2 separate regions of the Homo sapiens genome follow, and region 1 is linked to region 2. The links are contacts of gene promoters, found by promoter capture Hi-C in human tissues and cell types (Jung and others, 2019). All regions are on one chromosome and are shown on one strand. Each heading gives the region's core, a stretch centred on a gene start or on the middle of the fragment in contact. The rest is flanking DNA. Distances are from core to core; before and after follow the strand shown. Region 1 overlaps PRSS12 (serine protease 12). Region 2 holds the start of PRSS12 (serine protease 12).

Region 1 (5,240 bases), core at 1,664-4,163, 40 kb before region 2:
CCTTCTGTGTTGCCCCAAGAGTTGTTGGCTCCCCAGTCTCTATCCCTAATCATGTTCACTTCATGGGACAAGGCAGTATAGCGGAATCACAGAGCAAAATCAAACTCAACAAATGTTTATGGCGTGCCAACTCTATGTATGCACTGCTTACTATCAGCTGGATAAAAACTTGGAGTTTTAGCTGTGTCATAAAACACAATATTGAAACTTCATATTTCTCATTAATACATCTGAAATTTGGGAGTTCTTTGCAAGAACAGAAAGTGAAAAAGTGATCCTCAGATACCAAAATCAAACAAATGAAATTCTTTTATTAAAGTTTTCACTTTTTATATTTTTGGATATTTGGTTCAAAATTAAGAAAACATTTGCACATGAAATTAGATCTACATGTTCCATTCTGGTAGTTTTACAGGCACATTTTCATATACTCTGAAAATAAAAATGATAAAGTGTTTTTAAAGTATAACTTGCATGGCTTTGTAAAAATAATGCATACAATATTTCTGAACCTAATTTTAGCCATTCATTCTACAAAATCATTAAATTCCTAATTCTTGAAGGGAAACTGGATGACAAAAGTCATGCCATCCATACGTTGTCACTATTAAGTTTGTGTTGTTACAGAAATAATAATACATAGCATGTTTTATTTCCAAAATCTTAAATATATAAAGTTTTTGGAAAAGCTAAACAATCATATTGGTATACAGTTATCTTTAATATATATCTCAAGCTTTCAGTAGTTTTCTTTGATTTTTCCTGTAACATAATACATTATTTTTATAAAATACTACTGTCTTTTAGAAAAAAGATAAATTCTAACATGCATACATACACAGCAAAAGCCTAATTTTAGGCCAGGCTCAGTGGCTCACACCTGTAATCCCAGCACTTTGGGAGGCCAAGGCAGGCAGATCACCTGAGGTCAGGAGTTTGGGGCCAGCCTGGCCAACATGGCAAAACTCCATCTGTACTAAAAATACAAATATTAGCTGGGTGTGGTGGCAGGCACCTGTAATCCCAGATACTTGGGAGGCTGAGGCAGGAGAATTGCTTGAATCCGGGAGGTGGAGGTTGCAGTGAGCCGAGATTGCGCCACTGCACTCCAGCCTGGGTGACAGAGTGAGACTCTGTCTCAATTAATTAATTAATTAATTAATTAAATTAAGCCTAATTTTATACTGTAAAATTGAGTAAGAGGCAACAACCTCACTGGGAAAGAAATCTTTGCCAGGACTTAATACTCTGAACTTTAGAATTAATGTAATATTAAAACGAGAAATCCATATTTTTACCATCCCAGAAATTTCTGCCAACTCACATAACTGTATTCTTACTAGAATTACTTTTACTAATCTAGAATACTGCTTTTGAGCATTTCACCTACCACAGACCCAAAAGAGTGTCTACAGGGCTATAACTAATTTTGAGAAGTTTCCCTTGACATATAAAGTTAAGGTCCAGAAATTAGCCTTCAAATAGCTGAAAACAGCAGTAGTCCAAGAGCTCATCATTGCAGTGCCAAAGAAGTAAAAAATCTCCATTGTTTCCTAAATGCTGTTATTTATATTGTTATCCTGTTATCTCCTCCTCTAAGCTTCCCTTTTAAATATATAGTAGTTTTTAATAGGTGGAAGTAATGATCTATGAATGAACAAATAGTAATATGATTCTATCCCAAAAGGATATTTGGCTCAGATATAATGTTCTTCAGACAAATGACTTTAGTTAATAGACACATTACTGAGATTAGAACCAAAGAGATTCATAATAGTGATCATATATTTTATTAATAATTATCACCCTCAGGTTTTTAAATTTTTTAAAAATACATCTAGAGTCCTAGAATTAAAAAGATTTTCAAGGGAACAGAAAAGATTAGTTATTCCAACCATATGATGTGTTTAACAACACAGGCCTACAGAGAACTCAGGTCACATAGTATTTCATCACTGGGAGCTCACAGAGCATATCTGCGTAGATCATCCCATGATTCCAACACCTGCTATCTGGGGCTGAGAGAATCCATCTCCAGCAAACAAATTCTATCTCCCTCAACCACATCCACCACATAATCCTGGGAGGATCACAAATCTTTCAAAAGAAGGGGCAAGGGAAAAGGAGAACAAAATGAAAAGAAAGAAAAATGGAAATATGGCCTGCAAGAGATGGAATAAAAACATGTATTTCAACTTGGTATAATGCTAGATTAATGCAGTGTCACCAAGCTCTCACAGTGTACAGTACAATGAGGAATCAGCCACAGACTCTGACAAATTTAAAGTATGTAATATGGTTAATACTCTGAGGTTCAAAAAGTTGTTACTTTATAACATGAAGATTTCAGCTTCACAGTCTCCAAACAGGAGAATACAAAGGAGTTGATTCAATCCAAGGTTAAAAGTAAAGACCACCTAAGGCTATTTTAACATCTATTCATACACATACACACACACACACACGCACACACATACACATACACACAGATAGATATATAATAAAGCTGTGATAGCATACAACAAAGTATTTTGAATATTTCCCTCTGTATTTTTCATTCATATATATTCTGCCCTCCTCATCAGACATTAAGAAATTTATCAAGAATGTTTAACTGCTATCTACTCTCAAGAGGATCTTTATCTATAATTATTTCAATACAGTTAGAGGAGCTAGTTACCTTTTATCCAAAAAGTCTAAAAAAATGTAAATGAAGAGTAACAGAGGTCCCTGATGGGTTTCTAAAATAACAAGTTACACTAGAAAGATGGGTGAGCTATTAACTTTAATTAATCCACTTAGAAGACCACTGAGACACTTAAAAGAGCAATGGATGGTTGGTGACCAACGAACGACAAGGCTTCAGGACTAGAGAAGAAATGAACCATGAGACAGGGAGAGGAGAATATTCTTATTTTAAATCCTATCCCAAATAGCTCACTAGAATTCAAGGTAAATGAAAATCAGAATAAGTGACCGAGGAGTAAGGGGAATAGATACTGCAGCTTCTTTATTCCATTTTTCAGATACAGATGATTGTAAACATTGTTAGTGAGGAACTTAATTTTCTAAGTAAAGAAAAACAATTTAGGGGTAGAAATTTCATAATGTTGGCGCACAGACTCAAAAGATTATTTTTCTCTGCATAAAAATTACTGAAAATTAGACAGTTATGGGAAATAGACCCCAAAAAAAGCCAAAGATGAGAAACACTTCATATTCAAGGCCAGTGGTTAGAGGTGCAATGGCTACTGAATGATGGAAACTTGAGAGCTGCAGCCAGTCCTCACCCAGAGAGAGCCTGTGTCCCTCGCCGCCAGGGTAGCAGGCAATGCTAACATCTTCGCGGTGGCTGCAGTCATGCCTTCCCCACTGTCGCCTGGAACACTGAAGAAATCTGGTTTCCTTTCCTGAGCAGCTGACGTCATCCAACCATATGGGCCCTGTGCTTTCTTCAAAATGGTTGGCAGATGCTTGTTTACCATATCTGTGACAATTGAATAAACACTGTGTATAGAACTTCTGTCTCTTGGTTCAGGGAACCACAAAACATTTAACACAAGCAACTTAGTTCAGTGACATGACTTCAGAGGATAAGTATCTGTTCTTTCTCCTACCTTGGGGACGCAGTTTAGAGCTATGTTCGCCCAGCCCATCACATGTTTTAATCACCTTAAAAATGTTCGATTATTTCAACGAATAACAAATGAAAAATTAATACTTTTTCCCCATTCATTCTTGTGTTTTGTCTACAAAACCAATCAGAGAGAATGCAAAGAGATCAATCTCAAATTCCTGACCATAGAAATTGTGACCAGAAAGTGAGAACACTTTTCTCATTTTGCTTCTGATGCTCCCTCTGAACTCATTTGATTTCAGCAGCTTCTCTTTGGTCTTCTTTCAAAATAAAAAGTGTGGATTAGTTCAGTGATTGCTCAAGCACTATACCTAATCCATGATTAAATTTAGATTTCAGCCCATCAAAATCAGAATTATAATATTCTTAGCTTTTCATAAGGTATACAAATTCAACTTTAAAATGTTTATCAATTATATTTGTGTTCCAATTGAGTGTATTTGTAACACTGCACTACAGAAACAAAACCTAAACGTATAATAAATATATATGCTGCAGAAATAGGAGAGATCTGAAAAATTTTTTAAATTAGAAATTAAGTCAATCTGCACCTTCTTTCATCCTCCCAATTTTATTTCCTTTTGTTCCATAAAATCCAAACCTCCAGAAATCACGGAGCTTAAAAATCTTTAAGACACCTTTCAGTTCTAACAGCCTACAAGATTCAACTCTTACTCATATAATAATTCCCTTACTTGATGTTTTTATTATTTCTGTACTAAGAATATGAAGAGATCTTTCTATCTGACATGAATTTTCTTCTTTTTTTATGCAAGTATTTATTAAATTTATTTGACAAAATGAATATTTTAATAAATTAAAACAATGAAAATTTTAATCATTCTATGGCTTCTCTTCCTTCTATTTTGCTGACTAATCAACCCTTGGCTAGAAAAGTAATAAGCCTAAATCGTATATTGCTCACTTTTAACTTATAGACCATTTTTTCACGAAATACATTAGATTATCATCTGTCCATAGCAACTACACAACAGATAACAGGAAGTCATTTTACTTTGGAATTGCATTTGTACAAAAAAACCCAAAGTTTACTTTTTCTCATTACAAAAGAATATTCTTTTTCAAAAATTCCTTTGTAAACTAGAAGCAAATGTAACACATGCTTTGACTACCTTCTAACACAATCATTTAGAGCTTTTTACACACATTATTGAGAACATTTTTAAAATAAATGTGAATACTCTGTGCATAGATTTGTGAAACAAAATAAAATATGAAGAAAAAAATCAGTGTTGTTTTCATTAATAAAAAAATATGAAAAATAGAAATAACAGGATTTATGAATCTCTCTAAATGTGAAAATAAATAGAAATGACATGATTTTATGAATCTCTCTAAATCTGTGAAAACAGAGTATAGTTGGCAGTCTGAGATTCACTTAAATATAAAGTGATATTTATTAACTAATTCTTATCAATTGTCAGCATATTGTATTTATTTGGCTGTCATATCATACCCTTTTACACAAAAATTACAGTAACTTCTCTGCCCAAGAAAAGACAAAATGGGGGAAATTATATGAATATTGTGTTTTCATGATAGCATTACTTATCACAGGAAAAATTAAGCTGACCTAATATTA
Region 2 (5,557 bases), core at 2,890-5,389:
CTGGTCTCGAACTCCCGACCTCAGGTGATCCACCTGCCTCAGCCTCCCAAAGTGCTAGGATTACAAGCGACAGCTACCGCGCCCAGCCCTAGAATGATTCTTTAGTATTAATTTGCAAGTTTCATAAAACCAGGGCCCAGGTATCATGTTTCCTGCTCTCTGACATCTGAGCCACTGGAACATCCACGCCCAGCCCTGGCTCACCTGAGGTCCCCACCCTGCCCCTTCAACTTGGCTTCAATCAACTCTTCACCATGGAGACACCAACTTCCTCATTTTTCTCAATGCAATGAAATATGTGACTCTGGCCAGCAGTGTATTTTTTAAAGGAGGGATCACATTACTGTAAATTGTTATTTTCTTTTGCCCTGGATTTCTTTAAAGAAAAAAATATGTCGGGCATGGTAGCTCTTGCCTGTAATCCCAGCACTTTGGGAGGCTTAGGCAGGAGAATCGTTTGAACCCAGGAGGCAGAGGTTGCAGTGCACTGAGATTGCGCCACTGCGCTCCAGCCCGGGTGACAGAGAGAGAACCTATCTCAAAAAAAAAAAAAACAAAGAAAAAGATACCAGATATCTTTTAAGCATAAGAGACTGTAAATCATGTGCATCAGGCCAAACATAATTCCCTTTCTTCCTGTTAGACTAGTCCATAAACTACAAAATGAGGATTACTACACAATGCAGATATTTCTACATGTGTATATGTAAGTAAAGAAATACAGCAAAATCAGCTGTGAAGTAAAAATACACATATCTAACCCTATTTTCTCCTATACTCCTCATAATATGTCTTCACATATTTTCATCAGTAAAATGCAGGAACTCACTCAGAAGGTTGCTACAAGAATGAAATGAGGCCGGGAGCGGTGGCTCACACCTGTAATCCCAGCACTTTGGAAGGCAGAGGCGGGTGGATGGCCTGAGGTCAGGAATTCAAGACCAGCCTGGCCAACATGGTGAAACCCCATCTCTACTAAAAATACAAAAATTAGCCGGGCGTGGTGGCAGGTGCCTGTAATCCCAGTTACTCAAGAGGCTGAGGCAGGAGAATCGCTTGAACCAGGGAGGCGGAGGTTGCAGTGAGCTGAGATTGCACCACTGCACTCCAGCCTGGGTGACAGACGAAGACCCTTGTCAAAAAATAAATAAATAAATAAAAATAAAAGAATGAAATGAGAAAATGCACATAAAATGTTCAGTCCAGCATCCAACACAGAATGAATGCACAGTAAGTCCTAGCTACTATGATCAGGCCAGGTTGTTTTGCGTACATGCTCAGCGCTGCAAAGGTCTTTTAAATTAATTTACTCAAAACTTGCGTTTCTCCTGATGAGGAAACCAAAGCTCTAAGAGTTAAGAGTCTTACCCAACAGTGCACAGCTACTGGCAGAGCCAAAACAGACACCAGTGTTTTCTAAAGCACAATTCAATATTCTTTTCACCACTCCATGATACTTTTGTTCACACCCCTAATTGAAATGTAGGACCAAGAGAGCCGTAACGTTCAGAATATGCCACTCATCTCAAAGCTATAGGTTATGCCCAAGCAGACTGGAGAAGTAAATGATAGAATGAGATTGAGTCTGTGAAAGTAATTCATTATTACACAGTTGATCGTTTTCCTATTTTTTTGTGGTGGTGGGAAGGGCATTTATCTCCCATCTTGAGTGGTTTCTTTTGTTTCTCTTTTGTTCAATCACTTTACTCCAGGAAGTACAAATAACTATTATGCAGTATTTGGGATTTTGTCTGGTGAGAGTTAGCTAGGAACATAAAGGCATTCAAAAGATTTACATTTCTAGTCAACTGAAGAAGGTGAGGTGGCAGGAAATCCAAGGACAAGTTACTCTCCATGTCTGAAACATAAGGCTGAGTTATGTCAGAAAGAGAGCAACAGATCACTATCATTTTTTAACTTTAAATTACTTTTCTTGAGTCTGTGCTTATGTACTTAAAGAGAAGTTGTATATTCTCTCCTACACATTCATTCTCTAATAATTCTCTGCTCTTATCTATTTATAAAACTAAGAATAATATGAAGATGAAAAAAGTCAATGTTTGCTAAACCTAAGATTTTACTATAATCTCTTATGGTGAATAACGAGACAATGCTAGCACTCTTTGTTTGACATCACCTCAAATTTTTTATAGCTACATTGGCATTCTGTTCATGAAACACAAGTAAAGCGATGACTTCATTCCCGAGGATAAAGGATAATTGATCTTAACCTTCCTATCACTTTTCCTTAACTCAAAGCACTAATGCAATTGAAGGTACTGATAAATAAAATTTCTCCAGGAAATGAATGACATTGTGACAGATAACCTCCAAGTTACCTCCAAAAAGTACAAAGTACAATATGATTCAGAATCTCAATTCAGGAAACCCTTGCCCCACAGTGTGAATGGAAAGCTGCCAAAAATATTTTGTTGAAAAGAAATTCAAACTTTGAGGATATTTTTTCTTCCTCAGTTTTTAAACAAAAAAAAAAACCTAATTTCAACAAAATCCCAACAATTCAAAATGAAGCAATGTTCAAAGCTGGATTATTCATTTACATTAAATTTATTAGTGTGATGCTTTTATTACCACAAACCTAAAACATTTTGCCACCTTTATCTCCTGATGTTACCAACTAATCCTGATAAAACATATAAAGCTAAGTAATGGCTCTGGAAAACTGTGTATAACTATATTAAGTTGCTACTTCACCAAGATAGTAGTATTCCCATCTCTTTTCCCTTTCTTTTTTTCCAGTCACTGATGATACTTACCATACTGAGCTGGAGTATGTGAATATGGCTGATTTTGGCCACATAATTTTGCCATACTTTTTAAAACAGAGGTCAACAGCTAAATTAAGGCAAAATTTTACCACATTTTTAAAAATCGGAGTCTAAAGAATGGAGGGAAGGTTATTGATTGCCACGTTAATGTAACATTTCCCTTTCCAGAACAAGTAATTATGCCTCTTTAATGTAAATATGGTAACCCACTCAACGTAAGCTAATCTAGAGAACAGACGCCCAAAGCACACTGTCACCCAATACACGAGCGCACACACACACACAGTGGCCAGAGGACAGAGCAAATTCAGAAACCCAGAGCTCAGCACCTTGCATAGAACTGTCACCCCTGACAACCTTCACACAAGCACACCTGGCTGGCTTAGATTTGCAGCACCAGTATACCTTACTGGTAACCCAGCTGCAGCCCACCATCACAGCCCGCAAACGCAAGCCCACAACCCCACACACCCCGTCACTTTTTCCAAGAGACCTGTACGCCGGCCCCAAGCCTCACTGGCTCCGAGCCCGTCCGGAGTTTCCGCGGCCGCCCCGAGGCCACTAACCGTGTCTGCAGTCGCAGTAGCCCCAGTCCACCTTGCCACGGGCGTCTCCGTAGAAACACCAGGGTCTGCCCGCGCCGTCGGGGCTCCGACAAAAGTTGTGGCGCTGTCCTCGCAGCTGAGCCCAGCTCGCTGGGGGCGACCGCTCCAGGAAGGGTGGCACCTCCGCCCACCGCAGACACGGGGCGCCGAAGTCCGTCACGCTGACCCATGGCTCGCCGGCGGGGCAGCCCCAGGGGTGCGGCCGGGGCGTGTGCCCGGCCTGGAGGGCGTGCGGGCGCTGGGCAGGGAGCGCCCGCGGGGGGCGCGGGAAGCGCGGGAGAGGCGGCGGCGGACGCGTCCTCGGGGGCCGCTGCTGGGTGGGAAGGTAATAGGGGTAGTGCGGACCCGCAGGGGGCGAATGGCGGTGGCTGTGGTGGAGGGAATCATTGAGGACAGAATCAAAGCCGACCACTTCGGGGAGCGCCCCTAACATCAGGGCTAGCACGAAGCGGGCGAGCGTCATGGTGCCAGCGCTGCGGGGTCTGGTCCATGCTCCCCAGCTTCTCGGGCTTGGAGCGGAGAAGAGGAGGGGGCGGGGGCGGGGCTGCCGCGTCCCTCGAATCCCCCAGCCCCCTCCCGCCCCCGCACGCGGACCGCCCTCGCCTCCCCAACCTTGCCTCCCGCCGCTGGTGCCCTGCCGCGCCTCGGCTCCTGTCCCCTGGCGGCGGCCGCGGGTGGGGAAATCTGGAGCTCAGCCGAGCCCCGGCCGGCGGAGAGGACCGGAAAAGAGAAGGCGCGGACGCAGCGGGGAGCGGTTGGGCCTGAGCCCCAGGTAGCGGCGCAGGCACGAGCCCGGGAACTCTGCCCCCTGGGGGCGGGCGCCGGCCGCGCAAGCTGCTCCGGACCTACGCTCGGCCCCTGCCAGGCCCACCGCAGTCCGCCCGCACGGCACTGCCAGCTGCTGGGACCGAGCCCGAGGGTGCCCGCGCGGAGCACGGTCTTGGCTGCCCCTTGCCAGCATGCAGCACCAGCACAGCCCGGCGTTGGCGGCTCCCAAATCTGGCACCGGCCCCTGCCGTCATCTCTCCTCCAACCTCGTCGCCCCGTATCTTGCTTCCTCTGTTTTGAAATCTTTACCAAAGTATGGATGGATTTAGATGCAGCTCTTCCCTGACAACTCCCAGGATAAAAGTTATCAAAACCCACGAGGAATGTTAAAGCCATTTCACTGAACTATACGCTCTTCAAGGACAAGACCACGTTTTATTCAGCTTGATATCACCGTGCTTAACACCGTGCCCCAATAAACATTGGCTGAAATTAAAATCCTGAACCGACTCAGGGAAAGGAGCTTGAGCCTTTCTGCTTCCTGCCTCCCACTTTCCAGCCGGTGCCCTGGACAACACCAGTTGTTTGGTTATTATTGGGATTCAGTGAGGCTCTCTTAATACCAAATTTCCTCTCTAACCAGAGAAGACTTCATCCGTCCCGGTTTCCATCCTATCCAAAAAGTCCACCCCCCTAGCACCTGCCTCGTTTTTTGCAGGGCAAGGGACTTCTGTTAAGCCTATTCATTTGCCTCTCCAGAGACTCTGCCTGCTGACAATTTTGAAGCTTCACTGTTGGCTCGACCTCAGCTTAGTAGGGCCCTTTCAACACTCCTCGCCCCCCTCCCGCAGGCTCCAAAAAACTGTTGGCTTAGAATCTTAAAAAAAAAAAGTTACTGGAGCTGTATGTTTTAGTATTTTGCCTTTCAGTTGTTTCTGACTATGCTACCAAAGTTTGACAAGGAGAAGGAAGCCCGTAAAGAAGGCAACATTTTATTTTCTGGCATGGTCACGTTTCGTTGTGAAAAAGCAATGCTGTCTCATAATATAATGTACCCTGAAGAAAACTTGAACAAAATTCAAATGTTTATTGTTAAAACCTAGGTTTCAATTAGGAACTGAATTAATTCACTACTAGCTTTAAATAAGCCATCTTTAGCCGGGCGAGGTGGCTCACACCTGTAATCCCAGCAGTTTGGGACGCCCAGGCAGGCGGATCACATGAGGCCAGGAGTTCGAGAACAGCGTCGCCAACATGATGAAACCCGCCTTTACTAAAAATACAAAAAGCCGGGGGAGTGTTGGCGCACGCCTGTAATTCCAGCTACTTGGGAGGCTGAGCCAGGAAAATCGCTTGAACCTGGGAGCAGAGGTTGCAGTGAGCCGAGATCGTGCC

The links. Contacts are between HindIII fragments. The study calls those that stand out against the background at their distance.
Region 1: a contact is called between a fragment that was not itself captured here and the fragment with the promoter of PRSS12 in region 2, in 2 of the 25 tissues and cell types used here (H1 embryonic stem cells and stomach).

The regions. Positions count from the first base shown.
Region 1 is chr4:118,309,911-118,315,150 of GRCh38, forward strand. PRSS12 (serine protease 12) reads right to left here. Exons shown (of 13, transcript NM_003619.4): 7 at 3,291-3,487. Among named protein-coding and RNA genes, the nearest start is that of SNORA24, 33 kb to the left of the region's middle. The HindIII fragment of the contact is 7,240 bases long and covers 1-5,240 here.
Region 2 is chr4:118,348,864-118,354,420 of GRCh38, forward strand. PRSS12 (serine protease 12) reads right to left here and starts at 4,140. Exons shown (of 13, transcript NM_003619.4): 1 at 3,356-4,140. The coding sequence starts at 3,857. RefSeq lists an enhancer at 3,885-4,730 and silencers at 3,997-4,076, 4,107-4,366. The HindIII fragment of the contact is 10,666 bases long and covers 1-5,557 here.